Regions from separate parts of the Homo sapiens genome. Here regions 2, 3, 4, 5, 6 and 7 are each linked to region 1. The links are contacts of gene promoters, found by promoter capture Hi-C in blood cells and fetal thymus (Javierre and others, 2016). All regions are on one chromosome and are shown on one strand. Each heading gives the region's core, a stretch centred on a gene start or on the middle of the fragment in contact. The rest is flanking DNA. Distances are from core to core; before and after follow the strand shown.

The links. Contacts are between HindIII fragments. The CHiCAGO score rates a contact against its expected background, and 5 or more counts as called.
Region 2: a contact is called between a fragment that was not itself captured here and the fragment with the promoter of PKNOX2 in region 1, in 1 of 17 cell types (endothelial precursors). The highest score is 5.9, in endothelial precursors.
Region 3: a contact is called between a fragment that was not itself captured here and the fragment with the promoter of PKNOX2 in region 1, in 2 of 17 cell types (endothelial precursors and M2 macrophages). The highest score is 6.6, in endothelial precursors.
Region 4: a contact is called between a fragment that was not itself captured here and the fragment with the promoter of PKNOX2 in region 1, in 12 of 17 cell types (monocytes, naive B cells, total B cells and 9 more). The highest score is 10.2, in monocytes.
Region 5: a fragment that was not itself captured here is called in contact with the fragment with the promoter of PKNOX2 in region 1 in 6 of 17 cell types (monocytes, endothelial precursors, M2 macrophages and 3 more); the score reaches 7.2 in monocytes.
Region 6: a fragment that was not itself captured here is called in contact with the fragment with the promoter of PKNOX2 in region 1 in 3 of 17 cell types (endothelial precursors, M2 macrophages and M0 macrophages); the score reaches 10.6 in endothelial precursors.
Region 7: a contact is called between a fragment that was not itself captured here and the fragment with the promoter of PKNOX2 in region 1, in 1 of 17 cell types (endothelial precursors). The highest score is 5.7, in endothelial precursors.

Annotation. Positions count from the first base shown.
Region 1 is chr11:125,162,947-125,166,168 of GRCh38, reverse strand. It overlaps PKNOX2 (PBX/knotted 1 homeobox 2), which reads right to left and starts at 1,418. Exons shown (of 13, transcript NM_001382323.2): 1 at 1,393-1,418. PKNOX2-DT (PKNOX2 divergent transcript) reads left to right here and starts at 1,560. Exons shown (of 3, transcript NR_125759.1): 1 at 1,560-1,828. RefSeq lists a silencer at 1,556-1,705. The HindIII fragment of the contact is 6,114 bases long and covers 1-3,222 here.
Region 2 is chr11:125,356,832-125,360,034 of GRCh38, reverse strand. All of the region lies in intron 4 of PKNOX2 (PBX/knotted 1 homeobox 2), which reads right to left. Among named protein-coding and RNA genes, the nearest start is that of PKNOX2-AS1, 92 kb to the right of the region's middle. The HindIII fragment of the contact is 1,612 bases long and covers 761-2,372 here.
Region 3 is chr11:125,375,031-125,378,206 of GRCh38, reverse strand. The region is part of intron 5 of PKNOX2 (PBX/knotted 1 homeobox 2); the gene reads right to left. Among named protein-coding and RNA genes, the nearest start is that of PKNOX2-AS1, 110 kb to the right of the region's middle. The HindIII fragment of the contact is 2,720 bases long and covers 314-3,033 here.
Region 4 is chr11:124,957,219-124,960,395 of GRCh38, reverse strand. CCDC15 (coiled-coil domain containing 15) reads right to left here. Exons shown (of 16, transcript NM_025004.3): 3 at 1,132-1,281; 4 at 393-581. Among named protein-coding and RNA genes, the nearest start is that of CCDC15, 4.6 kb to the right of the region's middle. The HindIII fragment of the contact is 912 bases long and covers 1,226-2,137 here.
Region 5 is chr11:124,974,747-124,977,795 of GRCh38, reverse strand. It overlaps CCDC15 (coiled-coil domain containing 15), which reads right to left. Exons shown (of 16, transcript NM_025004.3): 5 at 2,587-2,700; 6 at 196-318. Among named protein-coding and RNA genes, the nearest start is that of CCDC15, 22 kb to the right of the region's middle. RefSeq lists a silencer at 577-777. The HindIII fragment of the contact is 1,796 bases long and covers 809-2,604 here.
Region 6 is chr11:125,340,130-125,343,459 of GRCh38, reverse strand. The region is part of intron 3 of PKNOX2 (PBX/knotted 1 homeobox 2); the gene reads right to left. Among named protein-coding and RNA genes, the nearest start is that of PKNOX2-AS1, 75 kb to the right of the region's middle. RefSeq lists an enhancer at 1,362-2,111. The HindIII fragment of the contact is 5,222 bases long and covers 1-3,330 here.
Region 7 is chr11:125,405,318-125,408,478 of GRCh38, reverse strand. The region is part of intron 7 of PKNOX2 (PBX/knotted 1 homeobox 2); the gene reads right to left. Among named protein-coding and RNA genes, the nearest start is that of FEZ1, 89 kb to the left of the region's middle. The HindIII fragment of the contact is 3,415 bases long and covers 147-3,161 here.

The DNA of each region.
Region 1 (3,222 bases), core at 169-2,668:
CTCCGACCTCCAGCCCTCTGCTCTGGCCGGCGTGTAAACTACTTATCGGCCCCTCGATCCCGATTCCGTAAACAGTCTGGATCCTATAAACCGAACTCTAGACTGGTCCTAAAACCCAGCCCTAATTCAGGCCGATCCACAAGCCCCTACCCCTCAATTCCCAACCCGAGTCTCCCCACCGCGCGGAAACCCCCGGCTCCCCCGTGAAGAGCCCCGGGAAAGGACGGCCCATTTCGCTCGTTTCTTCCTGGGGATCGGGAGCCAGGAAAGCCCGTCTCCTAACCCGAAAGAAATGCAAACTTTGAGCGGCAGATTCGGGATCCTGCGCCATCCCCCTCAGCTCTCCGCTCTCGATCGCTTTCAGTTCCCTCTTTTACGAACTCATCCCCTAGTTCTCGAGCCAGAAGGGCTCCCGATTCCCAAGCCTCGCGCGGGCCCCTACGCCCGCCTCACCAAAGATCCCCAGCAATCATGGAAAGCCGGTGACCCTACACATTCTCGCTCCTCCCTGGGTGAGGGTCCGTGCGTGTAGCCCCTCGGATCCTGGCTTCCCGGGCCCCGCCGGTGTTCCCCTGTCTCCACTGATCCGTCTGCAAACCCTCATTCGCCCTGCCTCCCCAGGCCGCGGCCGCGGCTCCTCGACTCCTCCGGTCACCTGGCCCCAGCCTGGGACCGCTCCCGCCTCCAGCCGCTGGAAAGCATCTCCAGGCTGGTGGCGCGGAGTAAGCGCCGGCCCCAAGGACGCCCGAAGCCGGGAGAAAGAGAACCTGGAGCCTGCCCGCGGTTCCCAGCCTCTCCCCGCGGAGCGCCCGGCCGGGAGCCTTCTGCACCCGGGCTCGGGCCGGCGTGCCTGTTCCTATTCTCGGGTCCCCTGGCGCTCCTGGCGCACAGCTCCCCGCCCGCCCGCTACGGGGTTGGGCCCGCGGCGATTCGAGTCCGCAGCCCGGCTCCTTGCACCCGAGGACAATGCGCGGCCGGCCACGGGCCCAAGCGCGGCGAGGCGGCGGCGGCGGCGGCGGCGGGGCTGAGCGCTGGCCGGGCAGGGGAGCGGGCGGCCCGCGGGGCTCTCGCAGCCTCCGTGCCCGGCCTCGCCGCCCCTCGCGCTGCTCCGCTCCGCGCTCTCCCGGCGCTTCCCCAGCTTCTCTCTGCACGCTCCCGCCGTCCCTCGCTGCTCCCTGCCTCCCTCCTCCCTGCTGCCTCCCTCTCTCTCCTCCCTGCTGCCTCCCTCTCTCCCTCTCTCCTCCTTGCCCTGTCGCAATGAATAATACTCTGGCTTGGGGACTGGAATAAAACACACGCGCTCTGAGGCAGCCGCCCGCAGCAGCAGCCGCCGCCGCGCCGCCGCCGCCGCCTGCAAAAGCGTCTCTGACATGGAAATGAATGACAGCTTACCTGATGCCAATCTTCATCAGACTGACACCGGCGTGACAACACAGCCTATACTTCCCAGCACTGCTCGGGACGTCAGCGGCACAGGGACCCGCCCCCCGGACCCCCCCTTCACACACCTCCCCTCTCCCCACTCCCCCTTTTCTCCCCACCCCCCATCACCCCCACCCACTCCCGGCCCGGCCGCTGCCAAGTCGGAGGAGCCGCTGGAGTGTCTCCCTCTACCGGAGGCTCTCGGGCGGCGGGCGCGGGCCTGCTCCTGCGGCAGGGAGGCGGGCGGCCTGGAGAAGCGGCTCCGCTCGCGAGGAGCCTCGGATGGGGAGTGCGGTGGACCCCCAGGAACTCTGGAGCACCCTCCCGCCCCCAAGCCAAGTCCTCCTTAGCGAACAACCGGGGCCGAGTTCCAAGATATCACCGGTGCTGAGGGGACCGAGATGAGGTGAGATTTTCTGTGGACCCCAAGAGAACTCCCCAGAAATGATGAAACTTAAAACGGGCAAGAAATCCTTCCTTCCACCAGCACTCCCCCTCCCCCTTTTCCTGCCTGGCTGGCCTCATTTTTATGATTGCATTTGAATAATTCTCATTACCCTGGCCCCAGAAAAGGTGTTCAGATGACACTCTGGTTAGTTATTCCTGGTCTCAAGAGCTTTTTCTGCTGTGGGCTTCCCGGGGTGTCTGGTTCAAGGTGGGGCAGAGGGAGAGAGGAAAGAGTGGATAGGCTTTGTCAGTAAAGCACTTCTTTGCAAATGTCAGGCAAGCCTGTTCTAAGCCACTGCTATTTTCATTCTAATAAAAAGTCCTCAAGAAACTCAGTGAGTTCCCAGAGTTCTGGGGGCTGGGGTGCAGTCATATAAAGGGAAAGACCAGCTGGGCTGTTTCAGCCTGGGCCTGCTGGGGTGGCTTCATCTACATCAGGGAGGAAATGGGCTCCTTACATGCCCTCTACAGTGGAAGACAAAAGCAGGCATGTGTAGACCCACAAGCGCCTCCATTCACTCAGCAGAGATCACAGTCCTACTAAGAGCCACACACAGGAGCACACTTGCTTGCTTCCTCAACTTAGCACATGGCCCTCCGCATAAAGGGACAAGAGAACCCCTTCTGCCTCTGGAAGTTTGCTTCTTGCTCCCCATAGAGGAGCCCTTTCAGCCAGTCAGGCAGCCATTGATCCTCTGACCCCAGGCCAGGCAGGGGGCCTGGAAGAAGCCCAGACAAAGACACCGACAAAAGCGGGAAAGCAGAAAGTGAAACCCAGCCTCTGGGTTTTCAGTAAAGAATCTGACCCAAGAAGTTGAAGGCTGCCCCTGAGCTCTTCTCAGGCCTCTGGGTCGCCACTCACCCGCCTCCGTCATGGGCAAGGATGAGAGCTGTTAGCATTGCCTGGCTCAGGGGAGGCAATTGAGACCCTTCTTATATCACATCCCAGATACACACACTACTGTTTGTCCAGATCCTCCCAATACCCTCAAATCCACCCACCAACGTTGCTTGTGGGAGAAACTCTTCAGTGGTAGCCCCCATTATAGACAGATTAGAATCCTCTCACCTTCACATAGAACCTTCAAAAACTTCACTAGGTGGATTTATGTCACCCTAGCCTCTGATCTGCAGTCAGAGTCTCTGGCTGCTGACAGCATAATCGCTATTATATATTATACATTGTATAATAATATAATAATAATGAATGCACTTGCCCTTTTTATGTGGTACAGAAGCGGCCAGATTCTCCAACCCAGAGGCTGGAGGTCAGGCTGCCATAAACTCTCAGAGGGAAGCCCTCTTCAGATAAGGGAGGGGGAGGGGAGATCCATTTGTCTCTGCCCAGGACCC
Region 2 (3,203 bases), core at 317-2,816, 190 kb before region 1:
AGCTGGGATTACACCGGGCATGGTGGCTCACGCCTGTAATCCCAGCACTTTGGGAGGCCGAGGCGGGCAGATCACCTGAGGTCGGGAGTTCGAGACCAGCCTGACCAACATGGAGAACCTCCATCTCTACTAAAAATATAAAAAAAGCACAGACACTCCTAAGAGGACATCCCCTCTTCTGAGCCCTCCACCTGACATGGCAGAGTAGGTGCCAGCCAGCCCCAGGAGGGCCCCCTTAGGCTGCCAAAACCTTGTGTTCTGGCCCCCTGGGGCTGCCCAGGCCTAGCCCTCAAGGGGCCACTGAGGCTTCAGGCGGGCCCGGCAGGGCTGGTACTCCCTCCAGTTTGGGGCAAGCCAGGTATGGGATCAGTTTCCTGGCAACCAGGAGAGAAGCCAAGGACCCGGGAAGAGGTCAGGGCTTGAGGTCACTTGGTAAACATCAAGTCTGGCCTTAATAGGTAGGAGGCAACAGGGGACATGAACATTGTTGGGGGGCACAGAGTCCAGGGCGCTCCAGACCTGGGCCTGCTCAGGCGAGTTGGAGTATGGGGATATGTCCAGTTTAAAGACATGGGTGGCTCAAGCAGGCAGAGAGAGCGGTCAAGGTGCACAAAGAGAAGAAAGGCCCAGCAGAAAACAAAAAAGAAAGAGAAGAGTCTGTTTTGATGAGTCAAAGCAAGGGAAGGTGGGTCCCCATATGGTCCCTGGGGTGTTGCCCCTGGGGCAGAGGGACCCTTCGCTAACAGTCACAGAAAAAGCTTAGGGGAACTTTCAAAGCTACTGAAAGCTGCTCACGGATCCGCAGCCTTGTCACCTGCACAGCCCTCCTCCCCTTACCCTATCGCCTCACACCTACCCTTGGTTGCCTGAGCGCACCTGATGGTGTCCACCTTCCTGCCTTTCCGATGGTGTCCACCTTCCTGCCTTTCCGATGGTGTCTACCTTCCTGCCTTTGCTCCCACAGCTGCCTCAGCAGGGACTGTCCTCATCTCCCCTGCAACCTGCCTCCCACCCAGCTGCAGCTTCAACTCTTCCAAGAAGCCTTTCCTGCTTCTCCTCCCTCCCCAGGCCGCAGAAGACTGGACTCCTGCCTCATCTGAACGGACCCCAACACCGGCAACACCAGGCCCTTTGCCTGTCTCATGAGCGGGCTGGTCTCCCAGCTCCCATGCCTGCCCGCAGTGTACTCCCACATGTTAAATGACTGAAGGATGACCAGAAGGAGGCAATGACTGAGTGATGTGTTAAAGGCCTCAGGGATCCCAAATCCTGGGAGAGGCCAAAGAAGGCCCCTCAAAATATTCCCCAACCCAGTTAGCCCAGGGAGAGGAAGGGCCGGCATCAGAGCCGGACAGCCCAGTGTAGCTCAAAGAGGCTCTTGGAACAGCAGGCCTCGGTCACCTCTATTCTGATCCCAGGCCAAGTGGACAGAACAGACCATAGAAGAGTTGCTCAGTGGTGTACAATGGGGGTTTCAGTTAGTTAATTAATTTTAAAAGGGTTTGTAAGTGGTGGTTTACACAATGTGACTCATGGAACATTCACTGCCCCTAACTGCATTTCCTGGGCTGTCACTGACAGGAGGCCAAGAAGAGGAAAGCTGTGGACTCCACTTCCCAGCTTTGTGCATTTTCCCGGGAACTGATGGCCTCCTGCCCATCCCATCGCTTCCCTCTGGAAGATCCTTCCCTTTTGTAATAGTCCAAAACCAGTGATTTCCAATAGGTCCTTCAGAGGGCACACCAGAATCCCTGTGTGTGCACATCTATGTGTGTGCGTGTGTGTAAGGGGGTGTTCATAGCTGGTAAAACCTATTTGACATGCCTATTATGTTCCTAATAAAAAGTAATTAAGGTTAAATCCCATCTGGGCTGCTGGAGATGTGCAGGTGATCGAGTGAAGAATGAAGTTGGGGTGAGGGTGAAAAGGGGCTGAGGAACACCACTGTACTTTTTGTTCCCACACTCTCAACAGCCTCGTGAGACAGGGAGGGCAGAGTTATTCTCATTTTATGAATGCAGAAACTAAGGCCCCACATGGACTCTAAGCTCCAAGAGGACAGGAACTCTGTTGATTTTGCACCCCAGTACACAGCACAATGTCCGCATGGCCCACAGGACACACTCAATGTTTATCGAATGGATAAGTGGATGAAAGAAATAGCTCTGAAATTACTTGCCTAAATTTGTATAATTCATCAGCAGTGGAGCTGATAATTATACAAATTCTTATTACAAGTCCTGATTGCTGAATTTCTACGAGATTGAGTCATTCCATCCTCCTCTTCAGACCACAGACTTCAAGAACAGCAAGCATCCTGGGGCCCTAACTCACCCACCTGCCTCCTGCCAGGCCGCACAGACACCAAAGCTTTCTGAAGACCAACTAAGACCAACGGCGTGCGAAAGGCAGGCAGAGCATGTAAGGTCCTCCCCAGACCCGCTGCTGACTTGGATCACCTGTCCCCTGATTTATTTTAGGCTTTGTATCCCAGGGCCATTAATTATTTTTGTAGCTGTTTAGGGCATTCATTCGTTCTGCTTGGGGACAAGGGAGTAGACAATAAAATCTCTGTTTTTGGTAAATATCAGAATATAGTAAGTTCATCAAATAAAATACCTAGACCAGGCCAGTAGAGTGTTTCTTCCCAAGTTTAAAGCCATGCTGACAGCCCACCATCTCCTACATGGGCATAAAGGCCCCACGGTTGGACCTGGAGGTTGTTTTTGCCTTTTACACAATGAAGAGTCCAGGTCTTGAGTAAGTTGGAGTTCAGGGATATGTTCAGCTTAAAGACATGGGTGGCCCAAGCAGGCAGAGAGAGAGGTCACTGTGCACAAAGAGAAGAAAGGCCCAGCAGAAAAGAAAAAAGAAAGAGAAGAGTCTGTTTTGGTGAGTCGAAGCAAGGGAAGGTGGGCCCTCATATGGTCCCTGGGGTGTTGCCCCCAGGGGCAGAGGGAGCCATCAATCACCATCACAGAAAAGGCTTAGGGGAACTTTCAAAGCTGCTGAATTAACTCTATTGCTGCAAAGCAAATGTGTTTCACAGGCAGCTGAGCAGAGGGCCCTGCAAGGCAGGGGGCTCCAGCCCTTAAAGAGATGAGAGGAATGTAAAGCGAGTGTGAAAACATCTGAACCCACTTCTGCCTGTCACAGCTGTGTGGCCTGGATGGAGGCCATTCACAGCCAGGGGCCCCAGCCAC
Region 3 (3,176 bases), core at 424-2,923, 210 kb before region 1:
TAAAAGTTCGCCTTTCCAGAAACTCTGCCTGAGGACTGGCGTTCTGAGCCTTTATTTCTTAGTGCCCAGGCCAGACACCACTGGGATCTCAGAACCAGAGAATAGCCTAGAAACTACTTTCCCAAACAGACCCCTAACCCCTTCCTGGGGCATCTGTTTACCGCAGATGGTCCACAACAAGTGCCCTTTCAGAGGAGGGCAGTAAATTTTCTCCTGGATGATGGTGAAATGAAGCCAGCGCTCGCAGATGGGCGCTCCAGGCTCTTCATCATGTGGCCTCAGACCCTTTTCAGTATCTCTCCTAGATCAAGCTTGTCCAGCCCGCGGCCCATGGGTGGCATGGAGCCTAGAACGGCTTTAAATGTGACCCAACGCAAATTCGTAAACTTTCTTAAAACATTATGAGATTTTTTCTTTTGCGTTTTTGTTGTTGTTTTGTTGTTTTGTTTGTTTGTTTTTGCTCATCAGCTATTGTTAGTATTAGTGTATTTTATGTGTGGCTCAAGCCAATTCTTCTTCCAATGTGGCTCAAGGAAGCCAAAAGATTGGACAACCCTGTAAAAGGACTCAGCAGAGAAAGGTGGTGGCTGGAAGGAGAGGGCAGGCGGACCCTGGTCCCTGGAATGGTCACTACTGTCCTTCAGCAGCCCGTGGAAAGCAAACTTCTGTGCCTTCCTGTGCCCATCTTTGCCCTTTGCTCTCGTGTGCCCATGACTTTCTTCCTGCTGCTCCTTCCACCTGAATTCCCTGCTCCTGTGTCTCTTCATGTCCCCTCCAACGACCTCAGCATCCAGGCCAACATGCCTTCTGTGCAGGCTCCCCTCATGGGTCTCTCCAGCAAGAGAAACCATCGCCTCCTCCGAGCCCTCACAGCAAATGCTAGGGGTTTCTTCCTTGACCTCACTCACAATTTAGGGTGGGAAGCTGGGTGGTCTGAAATAAGCTACACTTTGGGTAAGTTACTGAATTTTTGGAGCCTCAGTGTCCTCTTTCATTAAGGACAACACCTCCCATGCAGGTTCCTGTAAGAATTAAATGAAGAAACATGGAGAGTGTCTGGCACTTAGTAAACTATCAATTAATGCCTGCTCCATTTCCCTGGAACGGTGCGTGGGCACTTTTTAAATTCAGGGCAACACTGACACCATCTACTCCAATAAATTTATATTCCCATCTCCACTGACTCATTTGGCTGGGAAAACAAACCCACATGCCAATTCAAATAGAGGCCCAGAAAGAGGAGGGAGAGGCATCTTACAATTTATCAGAACTTCGAACCTCGTTTTCTTTTAACCGAAAAAGGACTGCCAATAGAAATTTATTTTTATTTATTTTATGACACTTCTTAAACTCTACTAAGCACAGTCGTTTGTGCACAGGACTGTCTTCCTCATGGCATGGTGGGCTCCTCCAGTCGGTGACCACATTTTCTCTCTCTCTGAACTCCCAAGGGTTAGGCACAGTATATGGCACACAGCAGAGGATCAATACATTTTTGACGAATCAGTGAATGGGAATCAGTGAATGAATGAGTGGAGTAAGCAATGACTATTGGAATGAAGGTTTTGAGACACAATCCTCAAGTTCTTTCAGGCTCAGAATCCATCCATACTAGGGGGACTTGGAACAGATTTTGCCATCTGGCAGCTTCTAGTCACAGTTGCTACGAAAGGACCTGCCTTCTTTGGGGCTCTGCTGGGGGCTGCCTGCAGAGAGGGTGGTGAGGTCTTAGAGGGAGGGGAGGGAGTAGGGAGGAAGGTGCTTGTCCAGCCCTCTGCTTCTCCTCCCCTTGAAAGCACCAGATGGAGAGAACAGAGGGGGGTGGGAGCGAGCCAGCGGCCCCTGGTTGGATGTATTTTTACTTCAGGTGTGACGTTGAAACCATGCGGGTGTATTTTTAGTCCTGCCCAGTGGGCGGTGTGTTCGCCTGGGTTGCCTTGGAGAGGACTTCTTCGAGTTGCTAAATTGGAGCTGCATCTGTCAGAGCTCCTGGGCTCCAGCCCAGCTCTCCTCCCCCAGGTGGGTGGACAGGTCCATTCCCGGCAAGTGTGGGGCCCAGGGCAGGTCGCAGTCTACTCAGCCCTCCTCCCTTCAGACACATGCACGCACACACTCCTCCCGGCACATTAAACGCATCTATGTGAAATCTCAACACAGTGAAAGTTAAAACTGCTCTGCGAGGGCAAAAATACAAAGAGCCTGATACATGAGACCTGGTGGGGATGTCGCGTCCAGCCCCTTCAGAACAAGGCGAGGTGACTCTGGCAGTGAAAAGAGAAGTGCGACAGACCCCATGACACGAGTTTACCTATATAACAAACCTGCTCCTGCACCCCGAACTGAAAATAAAAGTTATAAACAAAAGAGAAAAGACAAGTGTCCTTCCTGAAATTAGGCAGCTAGTGAAAGGCGATCAGTGATTCCAGCCAAGTCACCAGAAATTCAGCCAGTCCCCCTAGAGAAAGAACTTCAAGGGGAAGAGATGCTGTGAGGAGGTGAGCCCTAACCACGTTGTCTTGGTCACAGTCAAGGACTAAACACACACCCACACACACTCAGTGGCACTTTGTAAAGTGCTCTTATATGTGCTTATTGCATTTTGATACCCCAACGGGCTTCTCATTCTCATTTCACTCATTAGCAAACAGATGTGCTGTGTGGTTAAATGACCGCATCAGGCTATGCAGTAACTGAGTTGAGATTTAAAATCCAGGTATTCAAACTCCAAATCGTGTGCTCTCCCCTCTCTCCCATGTACTACTTGTGAGCAGTTACTGAACTCACTTCATCTGCCTTCCCCCTTTTCTCTACTGTTCTTGAGTCATACACATCCTGGGGTCCAAGCACTGAGCTGCCAGGATTACCCTGGGAGCCACGAGACTGTTGCTGTATGAGAGAATCTCTGCTTTATCCGGTGAGTTTCCAAAAGAACCTCCTCTTGTAATAATACTTGTGTGTGTTTGGAGAGGCCTTAACATTTTTACAGATCTCTCCTCTCCTCGTTTGATGCCTACCCTGTGGGGTAGGAAAGCTTATCTAAAGAAGTTAAAGATTTGCCCGATGATAGAGTCAGAATGCAGACTAAATTTTCAGTTCAGGTTCTTCCCACTCAACCATGAAATGGATCAGTGCCTGGGAAAAGCAGAAAGTGGCACTATGGTTAAAAGACAGGGAAG
Region 4 (3,177 bases), core at 432-2,931, 210 kb after region 1:
GCTTTCTAATAGGTTTTGAATTCTAGCACTTTGGCACTTTTCTTTTTTTTTTTTTTTTTTTTTTTTTTTTTTGAGACGGAGTCTCGCTGTCGCCCAGGCTGGAGTGCAGTGGCGCAATCTCGGCTCACTGCAGGCTCCGCGGCACTTTTCTTTAGATAATTTTAGAGTATCTTACCAAACACAAATGAATTTAAATTTAAAATTTTTAAAAAGCATTATCCCACTATTCCCCACTTTACAAAGCTAAAAAAAAAAAAAAAGGGGGATGATTATCAAAAGTGAAGCTGAGTGTGATAACTCTTAATCCCTACCTCATACCCTAGATGTCATATTTATAGTTTAGGGGATAGGGAAAATATCATAGACATAAAATAAAAAGAACAGGTACTTACAGCCTGGGCTTGTTGTTGGAATAATTCGTTCTGATTCTCTTCATCCTCTATTCCATCCCCAGGCATCAGGGAAGGAGGTAACCTAGAACTTCCAATAGCAACATTCAAATTGTTTGGAAAAACACTTGTCCTTTTGGAAGTTAAGTGTGTTGCTGAAGACTGCATGGCTATGGAGCCTTCTTTTTGTGCCTACACGAAAGAAGAAAGGGGGATAGTAACATTCTACCCCAATCCAGAGCAATCAAATAATGCCTCTAAAGCAGTTCAGAAGATTTTAAATTGGGGTGGGGGGCAGGGGAGAGGCTTTAGCTGGCAGAGAAACTAACATTTACCAGGCACCTCCCATGTGCTAATAATTTAGGTTATCTCATCTAACTCTCACACAATCCTATGAGAGAAGTATCATATCCTTATTTTATGGATGAAGAAACTACAATCAGTGAAGTTAAGTAATTAGCCAAAAGTCAATAGCTAGAAGTAGCAAAGCCAAAATTCAAACTCAAGTCTGAACCCAAAATTCTGACATTGCTTTTAACTACTTGGTAAAAGCAAAAAATTGAGTCAGAACACAGGAATAAAACATGGTTTCTCTACAAAAAAAATTTACTGTCTTCACTAGTTAATTAGATTATATTAGGCATGTAATCAAAGGAAAGCAATTCTGTTACTGCCTAATAGCTTATCTCATAACACACATATTTTCCATTCAATCTTTACTCAGGCTCACTTTTGAACTTACTCTTTCATAAGACTTCTGAAGCTGTTGCTTTTTTCTCAACCTAATTTGTTGATTTACTCGGTATTTAACTTGTTTCTGAAAATGTTTCAAAGCTTCTTGTTTTTTTCTTAGCTGTTCCTTTAGTTCTTCTTCAATTAAATATGCTGATGTCTTTAAAGATGAAAGACAGAAAATGAACTTAAATGTTAGCAGTTTTGTCCATTAGGGCTGTTTTAAACACAAAACAGTCAGGATAAGGATACAATCCTGAAAAAAATAATTCCATTCTGTACAAAAAAAAATGGAATGTATGAGTATCAAATCTTAAATTTTTTATTGAATTAGAACTAACGATGTCTTCATTAAATCTTAATGAACCAAATAAAACCTAACACGTTACACATTTTCTAAAATGGAGTAAATAGTCAAGACACACCAGGTTACTTACCACTCACCAAATATGTCCTATTGTTAAAATGTCTTCATATTTGGCATTATGCTCCATTTTTAACCTGGCATGCCCTTCCTTTCATCTCCACCTAGTAAAGGCCTATTCAGTTTTCACAACCATTTAATACCCACTCCCCAGTACCTTCCACAACACTCTCTCTCTAAGCCCTCTTATGCTATAACACCTCTCATTTCACCAATGTTAACTGAGTATAGTACTTCTTGACTCCCCTACTAGATTATGAACTCTTTGAGGACAGGATATGTATTCAATTCTCCTTTATTTCCCCTACGGCATCTAGTACAGAGCCTTCACTATAAGGGTAGTCAATATATATTTATATAATTGCTCAATTCCAAAACATATTCTAAACCAGGGGTGTCCAATATTTTGGCTTCCCTGGGCCATGTTGGAAGAACTGTCACATAAAATACATTAACACTAGTAGCTGATGAGAAAAAAAAAAATCACAAAAAAACTCATAGTGTTAATTAAGAAAATTTATTAATTTACATTGGGTCGCATTCAAAGCCATCCTGGGCCACATGTGGCCCATGGCCGCATGTTGGACAAGCTTGTTCTGAACAATCTGGAACACTTTATCCCATTTGAGTTCTTGATCTGCATTTATCTCCTCTAAGTGCTTTGAATAATAATCATAGTCATCATCATAACAGCACTTATCATTATTATGGATCTATCAGGTGACAAGTATTTTAACTACTTTGTAGCACTCTATCCTCAAAACCACCTTTGGCAGTAGGTATTCTTATCCCTTATGTTACAGATGAGGAAGCTGGAGTTCAGAAAGATTAAGTAATTTTAATATAGCTAACTAGTAGCAGAATTAGAAGTTTCTGACTCCAACAATTATGTTCCTCTCTACACTGCTTTTCTCTTGACTATGTCTCTCTTTCACTAGGAATTTTCAAATTAAATAAAATCATCATCATATCTCGTACCTATTCCTTCTAACTCAGTGATTCCAACTTCTAATTCTGAAGGGTACCTCAGATCATTTTACAGGCTGTCATTAAATTCTCAAAATCAAATGCATTCAAATTTCAATTTAAGTTAAAATTTCCAAGATGTCTATCCCATAAACTACTCTAGTGGAGTGTACAAGTGTCAAAGAACAATTAGGTAAAATAATTCCAACGGAGAGATATATACGTAATGAAGCCTGAACAACTGACCCAGCTTAACTCAAGCCCCAGACAAGTTTAAGCCATTCGGCCTCTTTCTTTTACCTCCATTTTCTCTGCTCCTCTTTTACTCCACAAGATTACAAGCCAGGTCATAAAGAAACTTCCACCTCTGTTCTTAGAGTGCTCATTCTGAAGGAAGTCAGCACCATATAAAAATTCAGACTACCCTGAGATTACCATGCTGTGAGGAAGCCCAAGTTAGTCAAACAGAGAAGCCATGTGAAAAGAGAAACATATCTAACCAGCACCCAGACATTCTAGTCATCCTAGGCCAAGCGTCAGATATGTGAATAAGAAAGCCATCTTGGACATTACAGCCCAGCAGGTGCCACATTACTGGGAGAACTTGACTATTGTCTAGCTCCAGCCAATAGCCGGAAAATAGTCAAGGTGTCTCAGACATGTCCA
Region 5 (3,049 bases), core at 457-2,956, 190 kb after region 1:
TGTGCAAACTGTGAGTACTAAAAACCAATGAATTGTACACTTTAAATGGGTGAATTGTATGGTATATGAATTATATCTCAATAAAGTCCGTTAAAAAAAATACTGGATATCTTAACCCTTTATCCCATCCTTAGTTAGCTGTGGATACTTCTAATAAGCCAATGTCTTTCCCCTCTACTTTTTATATTTCCCTACCTGATTTTCCATATAATTCTGGTAAGGTACAGCAGCTAAAAGACCTTGATGGACCTTAATGGGCAACTCTCCTCTTATTCCTGTATTTATCCCAGTGGATGCTGGTTTCCTGGAAAGCACTTCCTGGAAAAAAAATTACTACAAATATAAATAGGTCTAGAGGAAGCAACATATTCATGAGACTAAGTTGAGTTTCTGTGAAAGATCTAAAATTATCTTAGTAGGTTTTGGTAGTCTAATACACAGTAAAGGGAAAAAACATGAGTTCTACTTCATATGTACAAACAAAGCGCTCACATATAAAACCATATGGAATAAAACAGGAGAATATATTAACTTTATAAATGACAACTTGCACCTATTCTAGCCAGTAACAATTTCAGAAGACTCATGATTTTAGTCTTGGCAACCTGCCAGAGTACAAGCAAGTATGTGTTCCACTTGTATCTCCAAATCCGGATCAATAACAACCAGACAGATTCTAATGTCACTAAAGACTAATAATGAAATAAAACCAGGGTTCAACTCAATCATAGATTGTTCTTTCTGATTTGCAAATTCCCACTTCACACAACTAAGAAGGTAGAAAATTGTTGAGATTTGAGGGAAAGCTTGATACAAGTAATAAGAAAAATTTCACCAATTTCTTAGATCATTCCCAATTGTATTGAGTAGATTTGTTTTTCATATTTTTACCTGAAAAACATATATGCTTTCTTTGGAAGCAAGTAGGTAGCCTGAATTCATCATTATCACCATAACAATAATGAATTACACTTAAATGGCACCTCTGACGTAAAAAACTGGTTTATACAAAGATGTTATCTCAGACTTAATCCTCCCGTCTATTGGATAATTATTTCAATCAGAACTGTGAATAGTACACTTTCTGGAAAAACACCAGTTGAAAGGTCTGAGCATGTTCCAAGCAATATAAATATCCATCTCTAAGATCTGATAACTGTGTTTTTTTTTCTGATTTAGTAGAAAGTGTCTAATCACCTCATCTAACAGTACCCTGGAGTCAGTCTAATGGCCCAAACTATAGTACTACCAAACCACGATAGGTATGAAAACTGTCAAGAAACCAACATCTGAAAATAATTTAGGTACAAAAGAAACTCTGAGGAGCCACAAGGCAATGCTAGAAAAAGACAACCATATAAACGCACGTGGGATGTGTTGCCATACATGGACACATATCCACGCCCACTTGTTTTTTAAATTTAACTATAAATTTCTTAGTTGTAATTAAAGAGAAAAACATTACAGTTTAGTATTCAACCAATTGCCAACATATATGAGACAAACATTTTTAATGGTTGGGTCAAGATATGGAAAAAAATACAAAATTATATATCTATATATTTATATATTATATATATTATATGCATATTCCAGGAAAATATAAGAGTATACTAATTAGGAAGTAAAACTGGGAAAGAACTAAATGAGGCAGTTGATGATGGCAAAAAAATAACATATTTATTGGCAAAAAAACATAATTTATTAAAAAATAAATTAATGGTCTATTTTACTAGATGCTGCCTATAAAACATTAATGCCAAAATTAAGTACACACAGGAAAACACATAAATTTAGGATCCAAATTTGTGAATTCTGAGGTAGGCACCAAAACAATGTCATTTTATAAGTATAGACTTACATATCCTCCTAAGCCTAGCTCCACACTCACTTAAGTTTTGAATCAAAAGAATTTTTCTTTTTAAAAATTAATAGTTTCAATTTTTTCCTGATTAGAAAGTGACATACTTTATGACAATTTTTAAAAATAAAAAACAGAAGAAAATCACCTGTAATACTACTACCCAGAAATAATCAGTATTAGCCTCTTGTGCCATTTGTACCTAGGCTTTTGTCTATGCACATGGAACTCTTTCCATCTTTTTATTTTGCTGTATTTCTCTTCATAGCACTTATCACTTGAAATTATATTCTATATTTATTTGCTTGTTTATTATATGCTTCCCAACTAGCACAGAAGCTCCTTGAGGGATCTTTGTCTGTCTTTTCACCACTATAAGTCCTGTTTCTAGAACAATGCTGGCAATCACAGACATTCCATAAGTATTTGTTGAATACATATACATATATTTTAATTAAGATCATATCATACTTAATTTCATATCCAACTTTTTTCTTAACTTTATATCACAGACACTTTCCCTTATCTTCAGATATTCTTTGAAAATATTTTTTAGAATGGCTGCATATGGATATGTCACAATTTACTCAAGCATCCCCTACTATTGGGTATTTAAGGCTATTTCCAATTATTTTACAGTTCTAAATTATGCTGAGATATAAGTAAATCTTTATCTGTATTTTTTACCTGTATTTTTTTAAATCATGTATTAGAAATTAATTTACCTCTCTGGTAAGAAAGCTTTTCCTTCCATCATCTGGAAACACTGATCCCTTTTTTTTAATCACGGTTTTAAAGGATGCTAGCCGGTGACGTGCCTGTTTCATAGTTTCACTAAGCTGCCAGGGAAAGGGGGAAGAAAGCAAACAAAAGCAGGATAAGTTTTAATTCCAAATGCACTAAGTGTTCCAACAGGAAAACAGGTCCCTATTATTAAAAAATGCCAGATCTAAGACAACAGGATTACTTGCAAAGGAGACTTTGATGTGCTGATAGTGTGGTACAACATTATTGTCATTATTCTAGAGATTGTACTTTGTAACTTGGTTTAAGGGCGGTTACTCAAACTGTTTTTTAAGAAATAATGTATACTTTATATAAAGCATGTACACAAAAATATGAAAACCTAAAGTCTGAATTAATACACTTGGAGATCACTGACCAGACACATTCCTTACCTTCTATCCA
Region 6 (3,330 bases), core at 645-3,144, 180 kb before region 1:
CACTTTACAACTTGGCAATTTTTCCCCCTTTGGTTCCTTTAAACAAAATAAAACAAAAAACAGAAAAAAAAAAGCATGCTGGCTGGAAGGGGGAGCACAGCCCTTGCATTCTGCTCACGGAAGTGGTGTGCGCTTTTTCCTACCTGGAGGCAGGGGGATGGCTGCAGTGACCTGCGGTGGGTCCTGTCTGCTGGAAAGTGGGTGCTGCTCTGCCCCAGAGGCCATGACTATTGTGTCCCCAAAACTCACACTCACCACACCTGGGTCCCGCTTTTGCCAGTGATGTTCAACTTAGGGTACCTCTCCCATTCCAGGAGCCCCTCCCCCTATTGTTCACCCCCAGGAATGGAGGCAGGAGGGAGGCCACAGCTGCTGCCCTGGGGTGCTCTGAGCCAACTCCCTCCCCCAGCCTGTGGCCCCCTTGGAACCTTCTAACCTAGAGAGCGGATTCTGCCCTTTTGTTTTCCTCTCCAGCCCCTCCATCTCTAGCCAAACAACAAGAGTGGGAGAGGTGGGGAGGCCCAGGGAAAGAAGAGAGCTTGAGGCCTTTTATTCAATTATTTTCCTTTTTTTTTTCAACATGCAAGCAGCTCCAGGGATCGGGACAGTGGAGAGCCCTCCAGCTCCTCCACGGTGGTGGCTAGGGTGGAGTGTCAGGGCACCTGGGAGCCCCGGCCCGCCCCTCCCCCAGAGACACTATCATGTGCTCTCTCGTCTGCACACACTCACAGAGAAACAGATCTGAAAATGAACCTGGGACTGAAGTCCCCCTCGACAAACCTGATTCCCAGGTTTATTATTATTTGTCAAGAGCTGACAGCAGCCGCTCAGGCACTGAGCTGAGAAAACAACACAGGCCGGGCCCCTGAGACCCACAACTCAACAGAGACAGACAAACAGCTCCAGCGCTGGGATCCCAGGTGGAAAAGCGCAGAGCCACCTCCGGCAGCCCTCTCGGGCTCCCACCCTTTCATAAGTCTCTCTTCTCTGAGGCAGTCAGGAGGGCCCTGACGCTCACTGGGAGCTGGGGGGAGGAGGAAAGCAGGCATGGGGACCATGTAAGGTGTGAGTAGGGTGGCCGGAGCAGGGGCTGGTGGGGGAAGGAGGGCATGGAGGCGAGGGACCCTGAAGCCTACGCATTCCACCTCTGGTGCAACCTCAGATTCTCCTGGAGCCAGCGGAGCTAAAAGGGTCAGCCAGGCCCCTTTTCTCTCTGAGGACTGTACTGTGTCCTCTGGCTAGATGATACCTTGTTCCAAATTTTAAAACTTGCCTTTAGGAAAAAAAAAAAAAAGTCAAGAGTCAGAGTTGTGGAAGCAAGTGGCTCTGTGCATTCAATTTATCATTGAAAAGCCACTAGTTCCTGAGACGCTCATACCCAGCCAACGTGTGCCCTTCCTGCACCTTCCTGGTGGCCCAGGCAGAGCTCACAAGAAACAAGAGCTCTAAATAGAGCCCATGGCAATGGGATCGGCTAGAGGAGGAAAGGCTGCCCAGCCAGGCTGCCCCACCCTTGGTCCTCACCACCCCCTTGGAAGGAGGGCGGGTACACTGGCTCTGTGTTCCTGAGCTTCAGGAAAGCCAGCCCTGGGGAAGGGAAGATGACAGCCATGATGCGAGAGGACGTGGCGCGGCCACACAGACTCGCACCCCAGCAGATACTCCCTCCGTCGCCCAACCTAAGATGCTCTCGTGCCTTTTGCTGTGTTTCTTGTCCGCTACCAAGGTGTTCTGTATTTCACAGCCATGCCGTTCCCTTCATCAACACTTGGCTCCAAAGCCTACTGTTCCATGAAGCCTTTCTTCCCCTTCCACTCCAGGACTACACGTGGGAAATCAAGGCGGGAATAATCATCATGCATGTTTCTGTGTTATGGAAAATCTGCTCCTCACCCGCATGTCCCATCTTGCCCACTGGCCCCTGTTCCCCCCAGCAGACAAGATCATGGCTCTGCCTTGCATGTTCACTGGGGGAGAAGGGGCAGCCTATACAATATGACTGCACAAAGTCTACCTCCTTATGGAGCCTCAATATATATACATGGTTATAGTTTAATTTCTTTGGCTTAACTCCTTTTTTTCTTTCCTTTTTTTTTTTTTGAGACGGAATCTTGCTCTGTCACCAAGCTGGAGTGCAGTGCAGTGGCACGATCTCGGCTTACTGCAACCTCTGCCTCCCGGGTTCAAGCGATTCTCCTGCCCCAGCCTCCCGAGTAGCTGGGACTACAGGCGTGCACCACCACACCCAGCTAATTTTTGTATTTTTAGTAAAGAGGGGTTTCACCATGCTGGCCAGGCTGGTCTCGGTCTCTTGATGTGATCTGCCTGCCTCGGCCTTCCAAAGTTCTGGGATTATAGACATTAGTCACTGTGCCTGGCCGGCTTACTTTTTTTTTTTTTTTTTTTTTTTGAGATGGAGTCTTACTCTGTCACCCAGGCTGGAGTGCAGTGGTGTGATCTTGGCTCACTGCAACCTCTGCCTTCCGGGTTCAAGCGATTCTCCCACCTCAGTCTCCGGAGTATCTGGGACTACAGGTGCCTGCCACCACGCCTGGCTAATTTTTGTATTTTTAGTAGAGATGGAGTTTCACCATGTTGACCAGGCTGGTCTCAAACTCCTGGCCTTGTGATCCACCCACTTCGGCCTCCCAAAGTGCTGGGATTACGGGCGTGAGCCACCGCGCCTGGCCTGGCTTGCTCTTAAAATGTAAAACAAGCCAATCCAAGAAGCATAACCCTTTGAGTCCCAGCAGCCATTTACACAACAGTGAGAATAAGTTGGTTAGTTTCTGGAGCCAATTTGGATGTGGGTGAGATGATAATATAGAATTAATAACAACTGCCACTTACTGAGCCGTCCCTGTGCCCCAGGCATGACACTAACAGTAGATACGGGTCACCTGGTCTCTTTTCCTTAACAACCAGATGGTGTCGGCATTACGGTTGTTCCCATTCGTGGGTGAGCAAACCGGGGCTTTGAGGAAGTTTCCAGATGTTACACACAGTCTGATCCCAGAGTCTGCAGGTTTAACTGGAAGTCTCAGGGTGAGGGCAGGAAATAGCAGGGAAGGACTGAGACTCCTAGAAACTGGAGAAGTGCAGAAAAGGTGAGGCTGATTATAAAACCAAGCTGCCAGTTTAGAGTTGGGCCCTCGAATACTGGCTGTCCTTTGACTTTCCTATGCCCTGATTTTCCAAGCATCATGTTATACTGACACCACTAAATGTCTTCTGTGTTGCCGAGCCTGGGCTTTTGTACATCAGTTAATGGACACACACTCTGTGCCTTCCCACGGTAGGGAAGTTCCTTCCATCAGCCCTGTCATCCTG
Region 7 (3,161 bases), core at 605-3,104, 240 kb before region 1:
GCTCCTCCGGGTGGGTGGGGCGATGGAGGCCTTGCTTCTATTCTGAGCTCACCTCTGCTGCTGTGACCTTGGGGAACAGAGGGGGCAGCTCTTGCCTTGGCTTCCCCTTCCTGGGGCCCCGTGGGAGCCGCCTAGCCCGTGAAGCTTATACTTTGAGCAGAGCTCTTGGCCTTTCTGTTCCTGCAGTCGCAGTCTAAAATGGAGTCTGCCATGCAGAAGCCTAGAAACTGGAAGAGCCCCTGGAAGCCACACATTTCCCCTCCCTGAAGTACAAATAAGGCACTGAGGTTTAGAGATGCCTGGGACTTCCCAAGGCCACACAGCCCGTTAGCAGCCAGAGGACTAGAACACAGATCTCCTTCACCCACAAATGCCCCCTACACCGGTTCTGGGCTGCAAATGCTCCTTGAATCCTGCAGGTCAACCAATCATCATTGCAGGCAAGGTGAACAGATAAAAACAACTAAAACTCAGAAGTCCAGAAGCAGCGTGGGCACTGGAGGAAAGGCAATCTCGTCACCACCCTTCTGTGGGCCTCATCTCCTTATGTATACAGTGCATGTGACACCGGGACCCTCAACGCCTGAGTTTTCAGCGATGAGACTGCTCTGAGTTTGAGTTCTCCTTGTTCCAACATCCCAGCCTACCATTCTCATGGTGTGTAAACCGTGCTGATATTATATTTGAAGCTGAAGCAAACTCGGAAGGTAAATTTACTTTTTTTTTTGTTTGTTTTTTGAGACAGGGTAGAGAGTCTTGCTCTGTTGCCCAGGCTTGTCTCAAACTTCTGGGGTCATGTAATCCTCCCACCTGAGCCTCCTGAGTCATGGGATTACAGGCGTGAGCCACCACACCAGGCTTGAAGGTAAATTTAATGGGGGAGTGGGTACCTCCATGCCATTCACCTTAAAACCAGTGGAAGTGACTTCTCAATCCCTTGTTTGGAATCATCCATGCTAGCCTGTGCCTCTTCTGGTAGGGATATTTGAGAATTTCAAACATAAAAGGTTGTCCTAGACTTTCTTCACCCCCAAAAAAGTACCCAACAAGGTTAGAAAAATACAAGCAAAGTCAGTAAAATAAATACAAGATGTGTCCCTTGGGATTCAACCAACACACATTGTTTCCTAGCCAAAGGCAGAGGGTGAGCCACCACCTGGATGCTTCGTCTGCTTACTCAGACCCTGGCTGCTTCTCCACCTTGTGGCTTGGATACCCTCCATGCCAATTTACCCAATTTGGGTAACTAAGGGCAATTTATGCATTGGATCAGAGCCTTCTCTTTCCTACCCTTCTCTCCCTTCCCTGGGTCTTTGGCTGGAAGGTGCTGAGAGGCAGCCAGATTCTATCAGTGAAGGAATAAAATAAAAACCTTCAGAGATAGAGTCCAAGGGCAGGGCTGGGACTGGCAACGTTTTAGGTGGGGCAGGGAAGAGGAAGCAAAATTTTGGCATCCCGGAGGTCTGGGGAAATGATATTCATCCCTTACATCTGTAAACATGAGCTGCTTCACAAACCTGCCTTGAGTGTGCTTTTTTTTTTTTTTTTTTTTTTTTTTTTTAGACATAGATTCTCAGGGCCACTGGGTCAAGACCCTCACCCATCATCTAGCAATCTATATTTCTAAAAACTTCCTTGTGATGGTCCCAAAGATCGTACACGCTGAGTATGAGAGAGCTTTCACCACGCTGTTCCATTTTAATGTCACCATCACCCCATGGGGTCAGCAGGACTGTCCTATTTGCCTGAAGAGAGATTGAGGTCCAGAGAGGATGGAAGTGACTTCCCAGAGTCAAATAACTGTGCCTCCAGCCTAAGGCCTCTGGCTCTGAGTGTAGGACGAGTGCTCACAGAGAGAGGATATGTGCTTCGGGGTCAGACAGGCTCCAATGCAAGCACAGTGCCTGGCACATTTAGCCATCCAATAATTTATTTCCCACTTCCCTTGGCTAAGGTCACTCAACTAGGGAGTCGTACAGTTGGGATTTAAAAACCTGTCCTAGAAGCCTTCAAGCCACTTGAGTTCTTTACGTAGCAATGGAAGGGGTTCAGCTGGGGTTGCGCACGCAGGCAGAGTTGTGCAAACCTGGCTACATGTCTCCCTGTCTGAGATGTTCCTGGGCAATGGTCGAGTCCCAGGATCCTAAGCATCGTCTCTGACTAGCCCCACAACTCCACTTGGCTGCGATTTCCAGTCCAGGCTTAGTCTCTAGAGCCGTGGAATGGAGACAAGGAGGGTCTGACTCTCTTTTCTGAGGAAGGAACTTCCAGAGCAGCGGTGGAAACCCCGTGGGGAGCACATGTTGGCTAAGCACACAGTATTATTAGCTTTTTGACAGCTTCCCCTCAGGGCTTATCAGACTCCAAACCCAGGTAGATGCCACTGTGTCTAGACACAGAGTTGCTCCCCTCTAGGCTCCTTAGCACCCAGATGGAAGTGAGAAGAGTGTTTGGTACGGTTCTAGTTACTTTTTTCAGCACCCAGAGCCTCACATCCCTGCTGGAATTATCCAGGAACCTGGGGATGACAGCTGGTTATCCAGCCCAAGAATTCTGTTCGTTTTGTTCCACTAGGAAGACAGCCGTGGTGTCCCCAAGCCTCTGGAAACTGCCTGAGGCCTGGGAATCAGATGAAAACCAACACGCCGGGCTCCATGGGCACCCCTGGAAGCGGCCCCACTCCTGTTCCTTGTGTGCTGTTGATTGAGACTCAGAAGCAGGAGCCTCTCAGGAGGGGCAGAGCAAGGCAGGGCTTTGGGTTTGGAATGGCAGAGAACTGGTGCCTCCCGAGCACCATCCTCTGGGCCAGCTGCAACACCCTGGAACTGCGACTGCCACTCATTCTTCACAGACCTCAGTGGTCCCCAGGGGAGTTTTACTCCAAATTGCATTTGGAACAGCAGAAAGATGACTTGTTCCAAAGGAAGGCCTTACTAAGAAACGATGAGAAGCTGTGGAATGACTTTTGGAAGTGGGGGGTGCAGGGGCCCACATGAATGCACAGCGGTCTCACGTCAGCCCAGGAAGAGCTGTCTGTCCCTGTGAGCCACCGTGCTTCATTTTTAATAGGGAAAGGGCTTGAACTGCCCTGGGAAACTCAAGGAAGACTTCATTTCCACTCAAGGAAGGAATTCCTGGAAGAAACCAGAATGGGACAAAGA